Regions from separate parts of the Homo sapiens genome. Here regions 1 and 3 are each linked to region 2. Evidence: promoter capture Hi-C in 16 types of primary human blood cells and fetal thymus (Javierre and others, 2016). All regions are on one chromosome and are shown on one strand. Each heading gives the region's core, a stretch centred on a gene start or on the middle of the fragment in contact. The rest is flanking DNA. Distances are from core to core; before and after follow the strand shown.

What was found. Contacts are between HindIII fragments. The CHiCAGO score rates a contact against its expected background, and 5 or more counts as called.
Region 1: a contact is called between the fragment with the promoter of PAM here and the fragment with the promoter of ST8SIA4 in region 2, in 1 of 17 cell types (non-activated CD4 T cells). The highest score is 5.4, in non-activated CD4 T cells.
Region 3: a fragment that was not itself captured here is called in contact with the fragment with the promoter of ST8SIA4 in region 2 in 1 of 17 cell types (M2 macrophages); the score reaches 6.1 in M2 macrophages.

What each region holds. Positions count from the first base shown.
Region 1 is chr5:102,752,702-102,757,313 of GRCh38, reverse strand. PAM (peptidylglycine alpha-amidating monooxygenase) reads right to left here and starts at 2,009. Exons shown (of 26, transcript NM_001177306.2): 1 at 1,966-2,009. RefSeq lists enhancers at 1,286-1,375, 947-1,447, 2,455-2,980 and a silencer at 1,766-2,315. The HindIII fragment of the contact is 4,564 bases long and covers 1-4,381 here.
Region 2 is chr5:100,900,850-100,905,315 of GRCh38, reverse strand. It overlaps ST8SIA4 (ST8 alpha-N-acetyl-neuraminide alpha-2,8-sialyltransferase 4), which reads left to right and starts at 2,034. Exons shown (of 5, transcript NM_005668.6): 1 at 2,034-2,473. The coding sequence starts at 2,361. It overlaps LOC107986437 (a long non-coding RNA gene), which reads right to left and starts at 1,908. Exons shown (of 2, transcript XR_001742825.3): 1 at 1-1,908. RefSeq lists enhancers at 632-871, 1,652-1,891, 2,377-2,946, 4,084-4,466. The HindIII fragment of the contact is 2,860 bases long and covers 1-2,487 here.
Region 3 is chr5:102,283,966-102,288,802 of GRCh38, reverse strand. All of the region lies in intron 2 of SLCO4C1 (solute carrier organic anion transporter family member 4C1), which reads left to right. Among named protein-coding and RNA genes, the nearest start is that of SLCO4C1, 9.9 kb to the left of the region's middle. The HindIII fragment of the contact is 427 bases long and covers 1,636-2,062 here.

The DNA.
Region 1 (4,612 bases), core at 760-3,259, 1.9 Mb before region 2:
CACTCTGTCACCAGGGCTGGAGTGTGTGGAGTGATCTCAGCTCACTGAAACCTCCACCTCCCAGGTTCAAGCGATTCTCCTGCCTCAGTCTCCCAAGTAGCTGGGATTACAGGTGCCTGCCACTATGCCCAAGTAATTTTTTGTATTTTTAGTAGAGATGGGATTTCACCATGTCGGCCAGGCTGGTACGGAACTTCTGACCTTGTGATTTGCCCGCCTCGGCCTCCCAAAGTGCTGGGATTACAGGCGTGAGCCACCGCAGCCGGCCAAATGATGATCTTAAAGGGCCTTTGATAATGCATTCTTGACCTCATTCTACTTGCCATGTATAGTCATTAGAAGACTGTTCATATAAAAATATGAAATAAAACTACATAGTCTTTAAGTTACCTTGGAAGGCCCTTCAGGACAAGGAACATACTCTATATCTTTATATCTTTAAAGCATATAGCAGAGTGCATCGCGGAATGAAAATGCCTATTAAGTCAGGAATGCAGGAACGACAGGGCTTACCATTTAATATCAATTCTAAAGCTGATTATTTATTTTTGAGACAGGGTCTTGCTCTGTCACCGAGGCTGGAGTGCAGTGGTATAAACACAGTTCACTGCAGCCCTGACTTCCTGTAAAGCTGATTTTTTAGGCCATTTACTTGCTTTATAAAGTAACTAGAATGGCATGAACTATGCTTTTTTGTGCCTGTGATTATAAACTGAAAATTTACAAACAATATGTCACATGTTATTTGAGCTAAATGTCTGATTTTACTAAAATGAAAGTATCCTTCCTGGATTATTAGAATTAGCAGTAAATTTAAGTTTGCACCTAGAAGAGAAAAGCGATTGTAAAGAATGTAAAACATCTGAAGCAAACAAAGTCCAATAAGATCTTCCTTCTACTTGAATTTCTATGACCACAAAGGCACAGGATGTAAGGTCCATAGCTTTGTACACAGGGATTGGTGGGGACGACACGATTTCAACTCTGAACCCCAATGACCAGCTCCAGGAACACATGCCTTTTAGCCCCGCAAAGCTACTGACCAAATCACCCAGAGAGATAATCACATCTCAGCCAAAGGACCTGAACTCAGACGATCAGAACACAGGACCTGCCATCAGGCAGCTGCACGAGACAAGAGACCGTGCTCAAAATCACGTAATACCCTAAGTCATCCCAAGGGAGCCCCACAACTACCCTCAGCGGCAGGCAGAGCTGACGCATATTTTGCAGATGACAACATACAGGTTCCGATGGGGCGGGTCCCAAGGCCACAGAGCTGGGAAGGTGACTGAACCTAGACTTAACTAGTATCCCAAGTGGTGGATACTTCCCATTCTGCCTTGGAGATCGCCCTTCGCCCGCGTATTACATTCGGAGGCTGGCAAAACGGCAGGAAGAGAGCAAAGCTGGGCAAGGACGGGAAAGAAAGAGGGGAAGGAATTTCCACTGCTTCCCGGCACTCGCCCCCACTCCACACCCCAGGTTGCTACTCCGCGGCGGCCTCTACTTCCCCAAACTAGACTGAAGGGCGGGCGGAGAACCGAGGAGGCTTTCTAGGCGTCACGGAGAGTTCTCCAAGTTGGGGGCAGAAAAGGCGAATGAACAAATTGTACCCCCTAGGGAGAGGGCACAAGGAGAAGTGCGGAGGTGAGAAGGACCGGAGGGGAGGACGACCCCTCACAAACTGGCCAGGGACTTAATAATGGTGATGAAGGGTCGTGAGAGAGGTTTGGGAAATGCGAGAATAGCTCAGTCCCCAAAATCCTCCCTGGCCGCATCGCTGGATCCCCGCCCCATCCCCCCACCCCCGACCCGGGCAGCCCGGGAGAAAAAGCAACAACCTCCTGGGGCACCAGGAATTGGTGGCAGCAGGATCCCGAGCCCAGGCCCCCTTCCGCGCCCCCACCCTCACCCTTGCCCTGACCGCCTCGCAGTGGCGGCAGCAGCGGCAACAACACCAACCTGCGCGACCACGGGCTCTGTCCGGGACGGAAGCCGGAGCCTGCGGGCGGCGGAGCGGCGGGCGGAGTTAGTTGGAGGCTCCGGCTCCCTGGGCGGGGACAGGCTGAGCACGCGGAGGCAGCGGCGGTGGCGGGGGCTCCCTCTCCTCGGCGTGCGCCGGGCCCAGCCGGGTCCGCCGCTCGCCCTCGACTCCTGGGGCAGGTCTCAGTCCCTCCCCGGGGGCGGCTCCCGGGCCAGCCCCGCGCTCGCCTCCTCCACGCCGGCGGCCTCTGCTCCGCCCTGCCTCTTTGGGCGCAGGGGGCGCGGAGCTTGGGAAGTGGAGCCCTGGCGAGTCCCCAGCGATTGCGCGCAGCTTCCCGGGGTTTCCCTGCGGGGGTCGCGTGTGCTGGGTGTCTGAACTCACGCGCGGGCCAGAGGTAGCCAAGAGCTGGAACTCTTGCCCAAGTGCCCCGGGGAAGGGAGTGAAGGCCCGGCCTGAAAGTCTCTGACCCTCCCGAGTCTCGTGTCCCTAGAAGCAGCCTTGCGAGGTGGCCACGCCAGCTGCCCTGAGAGAAGCAGAGGAAAATGTCCGACTCTCCCTCCGCCCAGCTTCGCGCCAGAAGAACGTTTCCCGAGAGAAGGAAGGACCCATTGACCCCCAGCCCTTGCTCCAGCCTGGAGACCTGGCTGAGTGCATGGAACTGGAAGGATGGCAGAGTACCGGGGCTGAAAGCCTGGGAAATGTGCTATTTCTATTCACACCACCCCCTTGCCCGGCCCCTGGATTCAGGCCACCTCGCTCAGGTCTGCGCAGTGCTTCCCAGTTCACACCTCCGACCCGAGGAGGGAGGTCGGTATCCCTTTCTTAGCCTGGCTTCCCGCCTCCATCTGCATCCCTTTCTGCTAAACCTTTTTAACCCGCAGAGTGCCCAGCGCGCACACACCGATCACTTCGCCCCTAAACTGCGGGCAGGGAACTCTGGAGCCACCCACATCCCCAGCCTCACCCCAAAGCAAGAGAAAGCAGGGAGCCGCGCGTGGGGTGGTGGGGGCGGGGCTGGAGAGTTCCAGTAGGAAGGTTTTATACCCAAGAGGCTTGATGATGTGCAGTACTGACCCCACACACAAATTGATATGCGTTTAATTGAAGGCAGGTATTTGCCACTGTCTCTCCCTGTCTGCAGGTAACCGCTTGAGTGCGTTCACCTCGCCTCTTCCATCCCCAGCGCCAGCCCAGCCCCCTCTCTTTCTCCCAGAGTCCCATCCTCCTCTCCCTCACCTCTCCCATCCCAGCTCCCTGCAGCGCGGGTCCCGAGCTGCTCCAGATCCCCAGCACCCAGCTCTGGTCTTTCCAGACAACTCCTCCCCTTCAGAATCTGGTGTGGTAGCAGGGAGGTTGTGAGAAGGGACACTGAGGAAGATAAAGAAGGAGAAGCCAGTGGACTGGGAAGAAGGTAGGAAAGTGCGAACCGAAGGGGTACACCGGAGAGGAGCTATGGGAAATGAGGCAAAGCCTTCAGGCTATAGGGGGATTCCCAGAAAGAAAATCATTTTCTCCATAGGGAAACTACCGATGCTCGCTGTAGACCAGTTGGAAAATCTGTTGTACACCCTCCCAACAGAATTCCTAGTGAGCAGTGGCCAGACTGGTCAGGGCCTAGAGCATGTGTCCAGGAACTCCATCCACTTCCCAACCCAAATTCCAAGGCAGGCGGATGACCCTCATTTTGGAAACTTGATTCTGAGAAGGTGCGAGAAGACACCGAGCTGAGTCTGTTTACGGATCCCGGGCTGTTCTTCATCTTTAGGCATCTCCTAAGTCACTTTATCTCTTCCTCCTGGTCTGGGTTGTTAAGGAAAGCAAGCACTTGAGACCCTCCCTCAAATACGTCTCTCCTCTGTGTGTGTGTGTGTGTGTGTGTCACAGAGAGAAAGTTTGTGGTGTGAGAGAGAGAAGAAAATGTGGAGGGGCAGGAGTTCTAGGCTATGGTGTTTTGTTTCTCTTTGTTTTCTTTCTTCAATTCAGTACATTTTTGTGCCAAGATGATTTTCTTGTTCAGTGGTGACTATATTTTTGCCTTAAATGTGGGAGAGTAGTTGGGACAACACTTCTAAATGTAACCTGACGGTAACCTCTCACACCCTCAAGGTCCTGGTGTGTCTGGAATTGGTGAGTTCTTGGTCTCACTGACTTCAAGAATGAAGCCGCGGACCCTCTCTGTGAGTGTTACAGTTCTTAAAGGCAGCATGTCTGGAGTTTGTTCCTTCTGATGTTTGGATGTGTTTGGAGTTTCTTCCTTCTGGTGGGTTCGTGGTCTCACTGGCTCAGGAGTGAAGCTGCAGACCTTCGTGGTGAGTGTTACAGCTCATAAAGGCAGTGTGGACCCAAAAAGTGAGCAGCAGCAAGATTTATTGCAAAGAGCAAAAGAGCAAAGCTTCTCCAGTGTAGAAAGGGACCCCAGCGAGTTGCTACTGGGGCAGCCTGCTTTTAGTCCCTTATCTGGCCCCACGCACATCCTGCTGATTGGTCCATTTTACAGAGAGCTGATTGGTCTGTTTTACAGAGAGCTGATTGGTCCGTTTTGACAGGGTGCTGATTGGTGCGTTTACAATCCCTGAGTTAGACACAAAAGTTCTCCAAGTCCCACTAGATTAGCTAGATACAGAG
Region 2 (4,466 bases), core at 785-3,284:
AGATACCATATATATTTTAAATGATGTTTCTGATTCATGTTGCCATACTGTAAATTATTATTTTTAAAAGATGCCCCCTTTGAGTGAGTAGGATTTGTGTCTGACTAGATGCTAAGTTTTATTCATCTTTGTGTTCCCATCTCCGCACACATTGCCTGCCCCATAACCATTGCTTAAGAAATAATGAGTTTAATGAAACGATGCATATTACTCTATCCCTGACAGAGAGTGATGTTTTACCTATAATCTAAAATATAGTTGTCTACTGTTTAAAAATCAAAGTTTATCCTTGAGAATTTAGCATCCTAACCATGCATCCCTCTCCCACCCGACCCCTGCCCTCAGCCCCGGATCCCTTTTAACTTAAATAAGAAGCTGTTTTATTCTGGCAGTTTTTGCCAGAAGAAAAGTGAGTCTAACAGAAGTCAATCTAACAGAAATGCATTAATGCAGGCTGGATTTGCCTAGACATCAATAAACTCGAAAGGCTCCCTGTGGGCCACTTGTAGTGTCAATAAACGTTCGTAATTACTTGCTCCTTGGAGCATTTTTATACCCGACCCCGTTCGCTGTGCTGCAAAGAGGAAATTCAAGATCTCGGAAGTTCTTAACTTCTTAAACTCTAGAGGAAGTATGGTAAACACTGGCGGGAACCTTGGGTTTTTAAGCAAAGATGCTGGCTGTTTTCGTTGCTATTTTAAGCTGTCAGGCGACAAGCAACTCAGAATTCCCCTTCTTACTTCCGGCGGGAGGGAAGATTGGAATTGGGCCTCATCATTTCTGAGCGTGAAAAACCGCTGAAGCTACTGTTCAACCTGAAGGAACACGGAATTCAACTGGAGAGAAACCCTGGCGACCAGGGAGCTGGGGACCGGCGCATATAGATGAGGGAAATCCTGGCTTCCAGACACTGTCTCATGCTAGAGGTGCCTCCCGACCTACCAGCCAACAGTAAAGACCGGAACCAAGGCGTGGTACTAGCAGAGTAGCAAGCATCTCTCCCAATGAGGGCAACGACTGGAGGATGGTGGAGAGGTACTCAGAGTGAACAATCGAACACAGAACTCTTGAAAAGTGTCCCTGCCACCCAATACAAGTACGAAAAATGGTGGGACGGAGGAGAGGTGACAATCAGAGGCTATATATATAATTGAGACTTTTAGAGAGGACTTTGCTCTTCCTTCCTCCCCTCCCTTTTCTTTCCTTTCTTTCTTTCCTTCCTTCCTTGGTATCCGAATGTGTGTGGGTGTACTTGCGTTTAAAAGAGAGGTCCATGGTAGCTGCTTTTTTTTCAGAACTCTGTTTCTCCGCAATGAAGTTTAAGTGGGATTGGAGTTTCCTTGACTTCTGCGTGAGGAGTTTCCAAATGGCAATGAAAGGGAGGCGCATAAATATCCATAAAGTTCCTAATGACACCTCTATCATCACTTGTTTCCTGCAGAATCCTGAGCCAGGGTCGTCGTCCACCACCCATGCAGAGTGGGCCCATCGGCTAACAGGTTCATGTGTGTATTTGCACTTTCCAGATTGAGTAATAAAAGTCTTCTTCCTTCCACCGCCGTCCCCACCCCCGCACCCCGTTTCACTCCACCTTGGAGGGCGTGTTTTTGCGTGTGAGGGTGTGTGTTTAGCAAAAGCGATTGAAAGAAGGTACTCTTCTTGCAATCCACCCCTAGCTCTACCTGAAGCATTCCTCTGGCGGGACGCTTTTGTAATCTGTCCCCAGGCGAGGTGCCCTCTCACCTAGATGCGGATAGACTATCTTGGAGCTCCCAGGTCCAGAGAGCTGATGCTTTGATGTCCCAGGAGAGTGTGTGTGATTCTGCGTGTACGTGTGTGTGCATATGTATGTATGTGTGTATGTATGTATATGTGTATGTGCGCGAGCTCGCAGGCGCGTAGCACTGTGAGCTTCCTCTCCCGGCACAGAGCAGGCAGAGCCGGGGACGTTACTCTCCAAGCAGCCTCCGCCCCCTCAGCCTGGTGATTGGCTTTGCGCAGCGTTTATCTCCTAGCAAGAGGGAAGGGCCAGTGACGCCCCCGAACCCAGCTGCAGAAGCTGCCGCCACCTCCAATGCACAAGGTGTCTCATCTGAAAAGAAACCTGAGCCCCAGGGAGGCGGCGCGGAGCGACCCTGGCAGAGCTGGCGCAAACAGGGCGAGAGGTCGCTGGGCAGCGTTCGAGGACCAGAGGGAGCTCGGCCACAGAAGACCCCAGTGATCTGATCCCGGGATCCCGGCTCCAAGCTCTCCTCGCATTTTACAGATTTCACCCCCGCGACTATCTCCCCAAAACGGAGCCTTTATATCAAGAGAAGGTGCGGGAGCTGGGGCAACCAGGACTTTCTCGGGCACCCAAGATGCGCTCCATTAGGAAGAGGTGGACGATCTGCACAATAAGTCTGCTCCTGATCTTTTATAAGACAAAAGAAATAGCAAGAACTGAGGAGCACCAGGAGACGCAACTCATCGGGTAAATGCAAAGCTTCATTTCAGGATATGACAAAAAGTCAAGCCATAAATGAAATGTGAATATAGAGGGTAGAGTGATGGTTAGGATAGCATGTGTGTTTGTTTGAGCTTGCGCGTGGTTAGTGTCATGAATTAAATAACAAAGGCTGTTGTTGAGATGTGCGTGCTTCTCTAAGCTGTTCCCAGTATGAGTTCAACTTGCTCTGTGTGGTTGTGGTGACAGTTGTGTTGGCCCTGGGTGCTCTCTCGCCAAAGGAGAAGTCACTGCAGAAGTGTCAACAAAGAACGTGTGTCCTTGTCCTTTTAATCTGTGGGCAGAACTCAAGAGAAATGTCTTTATTCACCAAACGGTTGCCTGTTTTCAATGTCCTATCACCTAAGGAGATACTGGAGATAGATGGTTTCTCGAAGGGCTGAAGTTAAAGCTTAGAAAGCAGGAAATAGGTATACTCTGTTTCTCTACTTTTTTTTTTTCTATTTGACGTTGGATAGATTAATGTGTTATAATTTGAATTAGAAACTCCAGTACCACTAAGGATACTTCCTTATTTGTTCTTCTACGGCTAAAACGCATGGGCGTCATGGTTACAGTTTTAGAAAGAAACTGGGTACTGTAGCTTCACACAGACTATATTTCTGCTATTTTTTTTAGTTTGTCTAGATGAGTTCAGACTCTCCCCCGCCCCACTAAGTTCTCTAAATATCACACTTCCTTCCACCCGCTGGCCTCTGTGTCTTTGAAGTTTACCCAGGAGGTGGTGCAACTTTGTGTTGCTGACATAGCTTGGAAGGCTTTTTCTGAGGATGTGAACCTGATTGTCAACTCTATTCAAAGTCCTGTTTCGGAAATCCTCCCTGTTCCGGTTTGGAGGCGTCCTCTATCAGAAACTACACACCAGCAGAGATGCCTGCCCAGTTTATATTTTTCTCTGACATTGATTAAAACAAAGAAAACAGCCCTTGCGTGTGTGTGTATGTGTGTGTGAGAGAGAGAGAGATGGGACTGCTAACACACACACATGCTCTTAAACTTCCTGCACTCCATTTCTTAATATTCCTGCTCCCTAGGTAATAAGCATTTATTTAAGCGAGCAAGATGCAGGTTGATCCTTACAGAAGGACTTGCTATTCTGTAGAAAACCAGGAAAACAGTAGCACAGTCAAAGCGGACTGGAAGAGAATGAAAAAGCTAGCAAGGAATGGGCTGGAATGGTCGTCATGCATCAACGAATCTATACATGGTCTATTCTGAGGGGGTAAAAAAGACCGGTATGAGGTCGTTTACACAAGACTGGGTGGCTTGAAAATCCAATCTAGCTCAGTTGTTAGAAAAGCAGGACTTTGGGCAGGGGCGTGGGCATCCCTTGCAGACCTGTGCTTGCCAGGCAGACAAAGGGGTCTTTAGAAAGGTGATGAATGGGCGCATGGGGCTCCGATGAGAGGCAGAGGCTAGAGCTTGAGGGTCGAGGCTCTTTGTTCCCTCCCGGGCCGTGGGCTAGGAGGATAAGCCTGATCCCAGACAAAGCGGCCAAGGCTCACTAGGACTCCGAGGGTTCGGGCCCTTGGCTGGGACCCTGGAGAGCAGGAGTGGGCGGAGCGAGTGAGAAGAGGGTCGCCAGATACTGCCGAGGTGTCCATCTCCGAGCCTCCCTAAACCGTGGCCAGGAAAAGGAGCGCACCTCGAGTCCCTGCGGGGAAGCGGAGCCGGGACACTCCGCATTGCACGGGTGTCATTTCTCCTGTGGCCCTTTCCTGGACGTTGCCGGCTGGTGGGCGCAGCCCTAGGCGTTAAGGAAGAGGAGGCGGGCACTGGCGCGGCGGTTGAGCTAGTCGGGCTGGGCTTTTGCCCGCATCCTTTTCAAGCTGAAGCAGTTTCCTCCCAGCTTGACTGAGAAGGCGTTGGGGCAGGCGCTTGAGTAAACCAAACAGGAAGAGAGGCGCGCACCGGGGTTATCCCCTGCTGCCAGAGCGCCGGCGGCGAGGGGGAAAGAATG
Region 3 (4,837 bases), core at 600-3,099, 1.4 Mb before region 2:
ACAGTGATAATATCTGGATAGTGAAGAGCTAACCTTGAAAGATAATTTCCAGGCTGGAGAAAAATATGGTTAAGGGCTTTGGAGCAGAGGAGGGCTTGGTAGGTTTTAGGAATAGTCCGTTTTGGTCAGCATTGTCAAAGCAAGGGAGGCTGTTTTGGAGAGGCAGGTAGACACTAGGGAGGCATTTAGATTGTGCTTGAAATGCAATGCAAAGTTGTGGAAGAGTTTTATACAGGGAAGTGCATGATCTTACTGGAGTTTAAGAGACAAGAGTAAATGGGAGCCAATCACTCTGGAAATTTTTATTGTAGTCCAGGTGGGAGATAAATGTGGCTGAGACTGGGGTGGTAGCAGCAGAGATCCAGAAGATGAATGATTCTCAGTGTGTTTTATAGGAAAAAGAAATAGGACTCTGTTGGATATATTGTGAAGGAGGAATGAAGGAGTCCTTGGTATTTGGCTTGATCAGCTGGGGCCGTTTTTACTAGAAGGTGGAAGACTAGGTAGAACAGAATTAGAATGAAATTAAGAATTCGGGTTTGGAGTTTTTTAGTATGAACTGCATATTATATATCCAGTGTTGCAGTGTATATCCCCAAAATACGTGTTTACATAAATGTGCAAGTCATTCACTTGGTTTGATTCCTAGAAGTGCAAATACTGAATTTGAAGGCCTTCCTCATTCTAGTTTTTGATAGATAATGTCACACTGACTTTCAGGAAGGGATATATTAGTTACTCTCCCATTGTTGGTGAATGAAAATGCATCACTGTTGTGTTGAATTTTTGCATTTTTTTCCCCTGTGATTTTTCTTAACAGAAGTGTCATTGTGGTATGTGTAGGTGTTTATAATATGACAGACACAAAATTCAGGATTGAAATTGCATTACACATTTAAAGGAATTCAGACATTTAGAAACGGAAGGGATGTTAGAAATGATAAAACCTGGCCGGGCGCAATGACTCATGCCTGTAATCCCAGCACTTTTGGAGGCCAAGGTGGGCGGATCACAAGGTCAGGAGTTCGAAACCAGCCTGGCCAACACAGTGAAACCCCGTCTCTACTAAAAATACAAAAAGAAAAAAAAAATTAGCCATGTGTGGTGGCATATGCCTGTAGTCCCAGCTACTTGGGAGCCTGAGGCAGGAGAAATGCTTGAAGCAGGGAGGCCGAGGTTGCAGTGAGCTGAAACCGTACCATTGCACTCCATCCAGCCTGGGTGACAGAGCAGAGACTCCATCTCAAAAAAAAAAAAAAAAAAAAAAAGAAGTGAAAAAACCTCTTCTTTTTATAGTGTAAGCCTTAGGGCAAGAGGTGAATTGATTTCACAGATGGTTAACAACAACTAAAACTAATCCTAATTTTTATGGTTTGTTTATTGTTTTTCAAAAGTGTATGCTTATTACTCATACTAAGTTATTAACTATATTGAATGATTTTAATATTTTTTATGAATTTCAAGCATTTCTTCCCCAACTTCTAGTAGTCAGGTACAGTGGTCTATATTAATCTACTTTTGCAAGTATGGGAATCTATAACGAAAAATCTGAATTATTTGTCAAACTTTAGGGAGAGTAGAGAAGAAAACTTAGGAAAAGGAAACTGCAAAAAGAAAACAGATTAGTTGAAAGCTTCCTGTAAATTAATTAGAGGCAAGGGGATGTGTAATCTTCTTAAGTAACTTAACATAACATAGAGCATAATATTAATAAATGATTTTATTAATTGAAATTATACATGTAATTTAATTTAAGATGGACAGTGAGGAAATTAACATACCCTTCTGTGCTTTTTCTGTTGTTCTTAAGGGAAATCAAAATCAGGGCTCACTTTGGATGGGATAATCTCTGTAAGAGGAAACTAAAGTAATATAGCTAGTAAGTAGAAAAAAACATAAAATATGATAAACATGTATGATTTCTACAGGTGTGAGAATAACACAAAAGAACGTTAAGAACAAAAGTTAAGAAGATATATTTTGAAACAGCGTGGACTTTCTATTGTGTTGTAAACAATAAATTTAAGTAGGTTGGAGAGAAAGTGTTTTTTTAAGGGAAGCTTTTAGAAAGACATAAGCATTAGAGGTGATTAACTTTGAATGGAGATGATCAAAGGGAAGTTGTGGTTGTTACTGGACTAAAAAAAGAGGTAGTATTAAAATTAAGAGGAACAAATACATGCTATTAAGGGCTAATTTTTTGTACAAGTTAACCCAAACATAGTGTCAAAACACTTTTAAATAAGTCATATTTGACATTCATTTTGACTTACTTCAACATAATATTAATATGACACAACATATTGTAGTATGACTTTAAAATATTTAAAATGCGATAAGTAAATCTTTACCACGTAACATTTTTTTCATCTAAGCAATCTTAATTTCTTTTAGATGAGTGTTATTTTAATGTTACCATGCAAAATAATCTTTATGTCTCTTTGAGACTTTGGGAGAGAGGCATTATTAAATACTGAGGAATTGTAGAAAAGTAGTTACTTAGCCTAGTAAAGCTCTTTTTATTTATTGACCAATAATTAGATAATTTTTCCTACGTTGCACTATATCTTTGTTTCTCTTTTCCATCTCCTTTCCCTCAAAGAAACCTTAAATGATAAAAATTCACATTAGCTGTAGCACTAAATTTCTAATTTTTTTTTTATTGGCATTTGAGAGAGAATGCTTCATCAAAGGACTTTGGTTATGCTTGGTAACTACTTACAAAAGCTGTGCTAGGAAAATGATTACAGTAGGACTCAAAGTGGACTTTACTTCTGGTTACTATTTTATCTTTTTTTCTTAGAATACTTTTTTCTTTAATGGAATGCTTGCCTAGATTTGAGAAGACCTAGGGCAAAGAATTTTAGAGGTTTTCAAGCACAAATTCAATACAGGAAGCTTTAATTTTGCTTGGCCTCTGAGTGTTTTTCCTTTTTTGATATTATTTTTTACTTTACGGAAGTCACTTATTTTTCTTAAATTTTACTTCTTTGTAACTGAAATGAATAAAGGAGTAATAAGAAGAGGTGATTTTTTTAGATTAGAAGCTATAATGGTGTAATAAAACAAATGATTCAATTTTAAATTTAATACATACAGTAAAAGGCCTAGAGCTACCTTTTAGCAATAGTTAATGCTCTAGATAAAACTATCACAATTTTTTATATCAGAGGCTTTTCAGTCTTTCTCATACTTCCTAGATAATATGAATTACCCTGAGCCAGGCTCAATGGCTCACACCTGTAATCCCAGCACTTTGGGAGGCTGAGGTGGGTGGATTACTTGAGGCCAGGAGTTTGAGACCAGCCTGGCCAACATGGTGAAACCCTGTCCCTACTAAAAACACAAAAATTAGCCGGGCATGGTGGCAGGCACCTGTAATCCCAGATACTTGGGAGGCTGAGGCAGGAGAATCACTTGAACCCAGGAGGCGGAGGTTGCAGGGAGCTGAGATCGGGACACTGCACTCCAGCCTGGGCAACAGTGTGAGACTTCGTCTCAAAAACAAACAAACAAAAAAAAATATATATGTGTGTGTGTGTGTATATATGTGTGTATATATTTGTGTGTGTGTGTGTGTGTGTGTGTGTATGTATATATATGAATTATCCTGGATGGTTGCTATTCCTGTTTAATACTGCCTCTTGGAAATCCTGATTCAGTAAGTTTGGAGTAGGACTCAATCAATATTTTTAAAAAATTACCCAGGTTATCTTAGTCTAATTTAGGACATACATGTCCATTTTAGTGTCTGATTACTTTGTAAAGCTTCTAACTGTGGATATAGAGAGAAAGGTTTCTTTTCCTTTCCAGATTATTGCTTTATGTCTTCCTTTAAAATAGGAGTTTCACAATCATCATGAAATGCTAGGTGCTCTAATGCAGCCAGTTTTGTTGAAATGCAAATGACCAAACTTCTGAAATAGAGGAAACTTACAGAGAAAAATAAGTAGGAAAAAAATGTGTCAATGAAATTTTAGCACAAACTCATTCTCATTACAAGCTATAGTTTGCTGGTAGGTAGAGGTTTAAAAAATCCATGTCCTTTAGCAAGAGAAAAACATGTCCAAACATTTCTGAAAGTACTATCTGCAGAGAACAGTTTCTAGAGGCATTAGGAATATGTTAAAAATGTGTTCAATGGTTGAATGAGTTTGGAAAAAAAAAAAAGAAGAACGCTAAGCAGTTGTCTTTATTGCAGCACTATAAAGCAAATGCATTCTGTGAATCTTTAGTTAGGGGTATGATATGTAGAGTTGATGAAGAGGCTCCGTTGTTATACTTGTCCCCTTCATCCTGCTTTCGCCCCTTACTTTGTCTTCCTCTAGGTAAATGAGGCAGTGAACACACTTTGGTAAAATCTGCTCTATCTGCTTTAGGTTTAACTATGTGAATTTGAAAGCCCTTGTTGAGTTTAGAAACTTTATTATGATCAGCACCTAGAACAGCATGTGATATAGACTAGGTCCTTAAGAACTATTTGTTGAGTTGTCACATATATTAATGAATGGAGTCCTTTGATGAGGTATATTAAGAGCCTAATGCCTTGTCCTTCCACAGAAGACAGTAAGAGTAGGTAATGGCAGATAAAGGCAATTTGGGATTCTCTGTCCACATTTTCCATAAACTTGGGCTAAAAAAATAGGGTAACATTTAAAGAGAATTTTCTCTTTCTCTCTCTTCTTCATCATATTTTTTTCTGGCGACCGAATTAGGACAAATTATGTTGTTAGAGGCAAAAATTATTTTCCGTAATCTTTTTGAGTAAGATTTGAGATCTGAAAAATTTGCAGTGTGAAAAGGAAGCTAAAATGAGAAGCATATTCAGAAATAGTAG